2 separate regions of the Homo sapiens genome follow, and region 2 is linked to region 1. The links are contacts of gene promoters, found by promoter capture Hi-C in blood cells and fetal thymus (Javierre and others, 2016). All regions are on one chromosome and are shown on one strand. The core of a region is centred on a gene start or on the middle of the fragment in contact, and the rest is flanking DNA. Distances in the headings are between cores, read along the strand shown.

Region 1 (4,802 bases), core at 910-3,409:
CTTGAACCTTGGAGGCGGAGGTTGCAGTGAGCCGAGATGGGGTCACTGAACTCCAGCCTGGGCGACAGAGCGAGTATAGAAAAGTTCTCGTAGAACACTGTTAAACAGATGAACAACTTCAATACTTGCTCTTCTCTGCTTGATTTCATTTAGTGTGGTGAGTAAAAATTTAAATTCCAAATATTATTTACACGCAATTATATCCAGTAGAATTCCTGTTTGCTCAAATGGGAAGTCCCTAGCCGTTACTCATGTTGTCTTACGTCTGTATTGAACTCTTATTAGTTTGTAAAAGCTTTGGCAGAACTTTACAATCAGATGGTATGATTTTGCAAAGCCACTTCCTCTTACTACCACTGGTCATCTGTCATTTATTGGGCTGCCGTAAAGCAGGATTCCCCTTAAATCAAATTAAATTGGAATCACTTGAGTAAGGCTCAGGTACTAGTATATATATACATATATAGATAGATAGATAGATAGATATATTTTTTTTTTTTTTGAGACGGAGTCTCGCTGTGTCGCCCAGGCTGGAGTGCAGTGGCGCAATCTCGGCTCACTGCAAGCTCCCCCTCCCGGGGTTCACGCCATTCTCCTGCCTCAGCCTCCCGAGTCGCTGGGACTACAGGCGCCTGCAACCACGCCTGGCTAATTTTTTGTATTTTTAGTAGAGACAGGGTTTCACCGTGTTAGCCAGGATGGTCTCGATCTCCTGACCTCATGATCCGCCCGCCTGGGCCCCCAAAGTGCTGGGATTACAGGCGTGAGTCACCGCGCCCAGCCAGGCACTAGTATTTTTAAAACATTCTCCAAGTAATTTTCATGTGCAGCCAGAATTGCAACTCACCAGGCTAAACTGCAGTTGCGCAATTCTGGTCTTCTTGATACCTGATTTCTTTGCCCCTTCTCTTTTCTGGTTCAATGCATAATAAGAATTTTCCAATATTAGTTTTATTAGCTTCCACTTACTGAATTCTGCTTACGGGGGTTCCTGCTTAGTCTAGATAGTAAGCAGGAACTTACAAACTATGTAAGCTTATAGACTACATAAGCAGGAACCCTGTAAGCAAGAACTCAGTAAGTGGAAGCTAATTAAAACTACGTGCCAGGCAGGGTGCCAAGCATTTTTTGTGCATTATCTCATTTAACTTTCATAGCAACCCCGAAGTAGGTGCCATTTCTATGAAACCTGCCCAGTTACTGCCCCACTCCGCGGAATAAGCTCTTACCCACCGCTCCTCTTCTTCAATTCATTTCTGTTATGGAACTGTCGCGGCACTACAAAGTCTCTATGTAGTTATAAATAAACGTTATCTGGAAGAGCAGCCGACAACAACTTTCAAGATCTCCAATTCCCCGACCCCACACTCCAACTGACGCCTTCAACCACAACTACTGAGCCCCACTTTCAAAGCTCACTCACTAATATTGGATAATAGTTGTCTGCCTACCTCAGCCTCCGGAGTAGCTGGGACTATAGCGTCTTACTAGCCAGCTTCAGGGCTAGAATAGCCTTTCTGTGCAAGTGGAAAAAACCTCAGGTATTTCCCAAATCGGTAGCTGCAGAGGGGCTCTATCCCTACCAGAGATGGAGAAAAGCCCTCTCGCGCTTTTTATGTCAGCCAGAGCGGCTCGTTAAGAGAGCGAAGGCCAGGGGCTGCACAGGTCGCATCCCGTGAGCATGAGGTCAGAGAACCTGCCCCTGGGGCAAACCGCGAGGGGTGGGACGGGTGGGTGCAGGCGGGGCGGAGGGTAGGAGCCGCCCTAGTGGCGGCCCCTGGGAGTGTCCCGTGCCTCGCCTTAAAGGAGGGCGCCAACGCAATTTCAGTATGTGGGAGACGGGCTGCCCCACCCCCGCGCGCAAAACCCTGGTTTAGCTTAAGGGATGGAGGCGGGGACCCCTGCGCAGGCTTGCGGCGTGGGAGGCGGCCGCCCGCGACCTACGACGCCGCGCGCCGGGAGGCTGAGAGTTCGGCGCCGGGAGGGTCCCGGGGACAGAAGAGCGCCTCGCCCGGTTGCCAAGGCAACCCCACGCGGCTGGAGAAGCCGGCGCTCGCAGCCCGGCCCGGGCCGCTGCCGGAAGTGACGCGAGTTCACCTGCCGAGCGGGGGCTGGGAGGAGGGGCGGAGGGTGCAGAGGTGCCGCCGCCGCCGCGAGCCAGTCGGGAGCGCGCGAGGCGCGGGGAGCCTGGGACCAGGAGCGAGAGCCGCCTACCTGCAGCCGCCGCCCACGGCACGGCAGCCACCATGGCGCTCCTGCTGTGCTTCGTGCTCCTGTGCGGAGTAGTGGGTGAGTAGGGGCCATGGGGTCCTCAGCACCCGCCCAGCCCGGGGGCGCTCGCTGCCCGCGGCCACCCAGGAACAATGGGGCGTGGGGGAGGGGGCGGGCGCGATTTGGGGGCGCTGCTGCAGGGGCGGCGGGGCGGGCAGAATTGCACAGGGGCGCTTTTGCTGGGCCGGGCGCTCCTGGAGCCGTCCCGTAGGGAGCCGCGCAGGGCGCGCGGAGTGCCCGGGGACGGAGCCCTCGGCGGGGGGTGGAGGCGGAGGGGCTCGGGCGCGGCGTGTCGGGTGCGCCTCGCAGCTCTCCCATAGCATTCTCTGCCCCGGTGCGGGCTTGCCTTTCTTTGCTCTCGCCGTCTCCCTTGTCAGCCTTCGTGTCGGTTCTCTCCAGCGTTACCCGATTTCAAAAACCTTGGGCGGCGAGTTTTCAGGTGTCGAGTCGCCCAGGCGGGGAGGCTGAATTGCAAACGCCATTATTCAATGGACATGGAGCTGCCCGGTGCCTCGGATCGGCCAGGCTACCTCTAGGAAAGAGGCGCTGAGCGAACGCCAGCCTGGACGGTGTTAGTCTCCTGGAAGCAGCTCGCCCAGGCAGGAGCTGCTAACCAGACGCGCATTGTGAAGGAGACCGTGGAAAATCAAAAGTGGGTTCCTGCAAAAATGTAGCATTGGTTTCTGCAGTCCTTGGGCGAAGTGCAAAGGAGAATTCAGTGACCTCGTTTTTGAGTTTGTAATGAGTCGTTCATTTTGGAGATAAGACGGGCTGAGTTGTACAGGGTAATTGCTAGAGGATTTGCCAAGTGCGTTTGTCGACTGCTCCTTTCTCTGGGAGGGGAAAAAAGGCATGTGAAAAATGCGTGGACCATTAGGAGGCGTAATCATTTTGACACTTTAAAAAACGGATTTTCCATGTCGGTGTTTTAACCAACTGATCTTGTTTGTCAAACTAAGCACTTGCTGCGTTTTATAACCAAATAATTCATTTTTAAAAATCCGTAGGTGGGATCCTAGGAGGCGCACTTAGTATAGCCTCTGGAAGGGTAATTTTTTGTTGTTAGGTGCTCTGAAGCAGGATCTAGTGGCCCTTTCTGTTGGGATGGCTCTCTGCTTCCTGTTGAAATGTTAATTCCATTGTTGGATGCCACAGCTGTGAGCATTACTCATGGGATCAACATTCTATTAGCAAGTCTAATCTTCGATCTGAGCCTATAGCACTACCTCCACCTTTTTGATATATATCATTTAGACTTGGCGGGCTGAAATGTCCAAAGTAAGCCTTCCGGAGAAGATGAAGGGTCATAGAACCAGTTTACAGGTACATTCCCACCTTTCTTTCTTTTTTTTCTTTTTTTTGTCTAGGCCGAACCTGAAGATGAAGTTGAGAACACAGTGTGTTCTCTGGGAAAAAAAAAAAAAATAGTTTTAGACCACATCTAAAGCAGAAAAGTGGAAGAACATAAATTATGTGGAGGAACTTTTTTTTTTTTTTAAATGGAGTTTCGCTCTTGTTGCACAGGCTGGAGTGCAATGGCGTGATCTTGGCTCACCACAACCTCCGCCCCCCGCGTTTAAGCGATTCTCCTGCCTCAGCCTCCTGAGTAGCTGGGATTACAGGCACCCCCCACCATGCCCGGCTAACTTTTTTATTTTTAGTAGAAACCATGTTGGTCAGGCTGGTCTCAAACTCCCGACCTCAGGTGATCCGCCTCCCTCAGCCTCCCAGAGTCCTGGGATTACAAGCGTGAGCCACCATGCCTGGCAGGAACTAGTTGTTGTTGTTTTAACGGGAATATTTAGATAATTGGATTTAATTTTTTTTTTTTGGAATGCCTCACTTTGATAGGCACAATTCTAAGAAATAATATTTTGATGCAGAGAGTCATTGTGCTCATAAGGTATACACGGGTACAGTGAACATCTACTCGAAGGGCCAGTGTCTCAGCTAAACAAGGCAACTATCTTTATTCCAGTTTTTCAGTTTAAGAACAGCTGAGGCCAGGCACGGTGCTTGTAATCCCAGCAATTTGGGAGGTTGAGACGGGAGGGTCATTTGAGTGTAGGAGTTTGAGACCAGCCTGGGCAACATGGCGAGACCGCATTTCTACAAAAAATACAACAAAATAAAACCCAAAAAGAACTAGCTAGGTGCAGTGATGCTTGTCATAGTCCCAGCTACGCGGGAGGCTGAGATGGGAGGTTTGCCGGAGCCTGGGAGGTCTAAGCTCATGAGGTCTAAGATCATGACGCTGCTCTCGAGCCTGGGCGACAGAGTGAGACTCTGTCTCAAAAAAAAAAAGAAGACATACTAATTGATGAATGGCTTTATTTCTTCAGATATTTCTGACCATTTAGAAATGCATTGGTATGGGCCGGGCGCGGTGGCTCACGCCTGTAATCCCAGCACTTTGGGAGGCCGAGGCGGGCAGATCATGAGGTTAGGAGATCGAGACCATCCTGGCTAACACGGTGAAACCCCGTCCCTACTAAAAATACAAAAAAATTAGCCGAGCCTGGTGGCAGGCG
Region 2 (4,802 bases), core at 1,688-4,187, 110 kb before region 1:
ATCCAAACAAAATTACAGCATAATCATAGTGAAAAAATAAGTAAATATATGGAAGGAGTGGATAGGTGTGGTGAAGATGGGGGAAGAAAGAAAACAAAATCCTCATCTTCTACAGTGAGAAACTGATAGACAACGCATAAAACTGAAAAATAAAGTAGTCCTATAAGCATGTTATTTACAGGCAAAAAAGTAAATACAAGCTAGGCATAGTAGTGTGCACCTGTAGTTTCAGCTACTTGGGAAGGCTGAGGTGGGAGGATCACTTGGGCCCAGGAGTTTGAAGCCAGCCTAAGCAACAAAGTGGAAACTCATCTTTAAAAAAAAAGAAGAAAGGAGGGAAAGAAGGAGAAAGAGAGAGAGGGGGAGGAATGAAGGAAGGAAGGGAAGGAGAAAGGAAGGGATGAAGGAAAGAAAGAGAAAAAGAGGAAGGGAGGGAGGAAGGAAGGAAGGAGGGAGAAGGGAAGGGAGGGAGGGAAGGAAAGAGAGAGAGAGGGAAAGAAAGAGAGAAAGAAGGAAAGAAAGAAAGAAAAAGAGAAAGAAAGAAAGAAAGGAAGAAAGAGAAAGAAGGAAGGAAGGAAGAGAGAAAGAGAAAGAAAGAAAGAGAAAGGGAGGGAGGGAGGGAGGAAGGAAGATAGGAAGATGGGGGAATGTAGTTTTCCCTAGGGAGAAGAAGATGGGCAGACAGGAACAGGGAACTGCTGTTTTTCATAATTATTTGACTCTTTCAGCTTTATACATTTATATCTTTGATAAGAACAAAAAGTAAAAACAAAAATAAAGATGGGAGAGAGAGGAAAGAAGGGAGGGAGGGAGAGAGCAACATATGTAGTTTTCATCTAGTATAACTTAAAAATGTCAATAGAAATATCAAATCCAAGCTACATTTGACAGGATTTTCCAAAGTGTAGTTTATTTTGCTTTGGTGAGTTGCAGGGAAAGGGCAGGCAGAGTCTATGTAAAAGAAACCACCCTCCTTTGCGTTTACAAGAGTAAGGAAACGAGGGCAAACTGAGCTGATGCTGGAGCATGCCTGGTAGTTATGTATTCAGAAATGAGCCACTCCGCAGTGTGTGTTTGCAAAGCCGTGAATCGTGGGCCTTTAATTTTCTTCGTGGGATTTTCAATAACCAACAGATGTTACTGAGCAATCTATAAAATGAAATTGTGAAAATAAAGGGAAAAAAAACCACCCACACCTTTTCTTTCTTTGCTATGTTCTTATGGTTGCTGCTACTTCACCCAAACAGATATTGCCTTTTCTGAAGGCACCAAATACCTGTTTGTAATTTGATTTTCAGAAATCTTAGCCAACATGTTCTGATTAGGCCTAAAGAAAATACGGTGTTGCTAATACCTCTTCATCACTGACTTACCTCCTTCAGGGGTTTGGGAAAAGGCTATTTTTTTTTTCTAAATTTCATCAGTGATATACTTGTGCAAAGCCCTGTGTGAAGACTGTTATCAGAGGCTGCCTCCTGGTAGATATGGACCCCCTGCCCTCAAACTCTCTACTATAGGTACATATTTTCTTATCTTCTCTGAGCATCACTTACTTTTAAAGCCATTAAAAAAAAATTGAGAGTTACAAAAAAATTCAGTCAGCACAAATTCCTAATGAAGGTGTTCAAAGCACCTTTTTTTTCTTTTTTTAACAGAGTCTCACTCTATTGCCCAGGCTGGAGTACAGTGATGCAATCGTGGCTCACTGCAGCTAATTGTTTAATTTTTTCTAAAGGCAGGGTCTTGCTGTGTTGCCCAGGCTGGTCTCAAACTCCTTATCTCAAGCAATCCTCCCACCTCGGCCTCTCAAAATGCTGCAAATACAGGCATGAACCACTGCATCGGCCTATAACTTTTTTTTTTGAGACAGAGTCTTGCTCTGTTGCCCAGGCTGGAGTGCAGTGGTGCAATCTCAGCTCACTGCAACCTCCACCTCCGGGATTCAAGTGATTCTCTTGCCTCAGCCTCCCAAGTTACTGGGATTACAGATGTGCACCACCACACCCAGCTAATTTTTAGTAGAGATGGAGTTTTGCCATGTTGGCCAGGCTGGTCTCCAACTCCAGACCTCAGGTGATCCACCCACCTCGGCCTCCCAAAGTGCTGGGATTACAGGCATGAGCCACCATGCCTAGCTGCGCGTTTTTTTTTTAATAGACTCCACTATAAAACATTTACTAATTCAACTCACATCCTTGAACTTAAAAACAGAGAAACAATCTAACTTACTGTCAACAATTGCTACAGGCCATGGGATGCCCCCTGCTTTTATGGCACCATGGACCCAGCATTTAGGGGAGGCAGTAGAGACACATCTAGGACTGAATTCCTACTCCACAAGTGTCTAGCTGTGTAATTTTTTAGGTATTAATCATGCCATACCTCAGTTTCTCTATCTGTAAAGTAAAAACTGTAAGGCCCAGCCAGGCACCGTGACTCATGCCTGTAATCACAATACTTTGAGAGGCTGAGGCAGGTGGATCACCTGAGGTCAGGAGTTCGAGACCAGCCTTATCAACATAGCAAAACACCATCTCTAACAAAAACTAGCCGGGTGTGGTTGCGTAAACCTGTAATCCCAGATACTCAGGAGGCTGAGGCAGGAGAATTGCTTGAACCCGTCAGGTGGAGGTTGGGTTGCAGTGAGCTGAGAGATCACACCACTTCAACTTCACTCCAGCCTGGGCAAAAAAGCGAAACTCCGTCAAACAAAAGAAAAGAAAGAAAGAAAGGAAAGAAAGGCAAGAAAGAAAGAAAGAAAGAAAGAAAAGAAAGAAAGAAAGAAAGAAAGAAAGAAAGAAAGAAAGAAAGAAAGAAAGAAATAAAGAAAGAAAGAAAGAAGAAAGAAAGAAAGAAAAGATAAAACAGTAAGGCCTTCACATATGCTTTACCACAGTAAGTGGCTTACTTCAGTAAGGCAATCAACAAACACAGAACTCTCTTTCCTCTTATTTCTTGAGGCATGGGGAAAGAGTATGCAGGCATGCCTACTTTCCCTTTCACATGACCCAGGTTCTGCACTGTCTCCTCTTATTTGGGATATGAGAAGAAAGGGAAGATGTTAGCCAATGAAAGACATCCTTGTGAGCTTGCATTCAATTCACATTAAAGGATCTGGAAAATCAGATCAACCCCCTGGGTTCTGCCCTTTCACTCAAGAGTCTGGACTTTGTTAAATCACCGGCAGATATATATTTTTTTTCGGTGACACTGTCAAATCAAAGGCCAGTGAGAGCTAGCAGGATTTCTCTCTTTGAAAAGGGTTTCTAAACAGAAATTACAGGACAATAGTAATTCACTTGTGTCCCTTTAGGAAACGCAGTAAAGAAAAACCATAAGCCATACAACAGACAAATAAATTAGCAGATTATAACCAGGAATTCCTCATCTTTTCTTCTTGGGTATTGTCTATATTATGATCTTGCATTTGTATAGAATAGAATACACAAAAATCTTAGGGCCTAGAATATTAGAGGCACTTAAAACCAGTAACCCCAATTTACAGATATAGAAACTGTTCACAGAGATCAATAGCCTTTTCCAACTTACTACAGCTTATTAGCAGTGGGTCTTATTTCTATCCATGCACTTTACTCTTTAGCTTGCAATTCACCAGCTTTAGCTTGCAATTTCAGACACAATGCAATTCATACACAATGCAATTCACAATTTAGCTTGCAATTCACTAGCTTTAGCTTGCAATTTCATACACAATGCAATTGTGTATGAAAACTGTATTTTTGCGTGCCACAGATTTATATAACTATATTATTCTGTGATTTAGGAATGAGCTAATAGGCTTTACTTTTATTTTAAGGAACTCTCAATAAAAGTTCTGCTTTTTATTTAAGTAAAAAATGTTAAAGGGCCGAGCACAGTGGCTCACACCTGTAATCCCAGCACTTTGGGAGGCTGAGGCAGGTGGATCACTTGAGATCAGGAGTTCAAGACCAGCCTGACCAACATGGTGAAATCCTGTTTCTACCAAGAAATACAAAAATTAGCCAGGTGTGGTGGTGCGCACCTGTAGTCCCAGCTACTCAGGAGGCTGAGGTGGGAGAATCGCTGTAACTCAGGAGGCGGAGGTTACAGTAAGCGGAGATCACACCACTGCACTCCAGCCTGGGTGACAGAGTAAGATCCTGTCTCAAAAAAAAAAAAAAGTTAAAGGGTGAGTGTAAAAGGAAAGGCTGGGTGTTTGGGGAATCAAATAGAAAATAAGGAAATTGTCTAACACTTCATTGGCAAGTCTAGAAATAAAAACGAGACTGTTTTTTCTGTTTCTTTCCTCCTTTGTATTGTCCTTAGGTTCCTCTCTGAAGGCAGAAATGTCAAAGATGCTTTGCTAAAACCCAAAAAGTTGCTATGCAACCTACATTTAAAATTATTTCTTCCTACCTAGAATCCCAGGGATCTATAATTTTGCCATCTAAGAGAGAAACATGCCACGTCAGAAGGAAGGAGAATATGACAGCAGATTTTGGAATCAATTGTCAATGTAGTTTGCTAGCTTATCATGGTTTCTTAGACACTGTGTGAGCAAATCTCACAAATGGAACTGATTTACCATAAAAATGTGCCTAATTTCCATTAAATCTTGTTCGTTGCTTTACTGAGGCACTGAAGTTACCAATGTTCCACTGGTTGACCTGCGGGGCTATCTCTAGGTTATGTTACTCCAGAAAATGAATTGTGTATAAAAGAGGCCTTGGAGGAAGGCGTTTTATTCGCATCAGTTGTTTTGCACATTGCTTAAGCTAGAGATGTTAGCAGCTTCTTAAAGAGAGCAGCGTTAGCCAGAC

What was found. The method cuts DNA at HindIII sites, captures the fragments that hold promoters and counts their contacts. A CHiCAGO score of 5 or more calls a contact.
Region 2: a fragment that was not itself captured here is called in contact with the fragment with the promoter of CXADR in region 1 in 3 of 17 cell types (M0 macrophages, M1 macrophages and M2 macrophages); the score reaches 6.9 in M0 macrophages.

Annotation. Positions count from the first base shown.
Region 1 is chr21:17,510,884-17,515,685 of GRCh38, forward strand. CXADR (CXADR cell adhesion molecule) reads left to right here and starts at 2,160. Exons shown (of 7, transcript NM_001338.5): 1 at 2,160-2,289. The coding sequence starts at 2,247. RefSeq lists silencers at 1,611-1,730, 1,791-2,330. The HindIII fragment of the contact is 5,305 bases long and covers 1,034-4,802 here.
Region 2 is chr21:17,397,350-17,402,151 of GRCh38, forward strand. No RefSeq gene overlaps it. Among named protein-coding and RNA genes, the nearest start is that of LINC01549, 39 kb to the right of the region's middle. The HindIII fragment of the contact is 9,913 bases long and covers 1-4,802 here.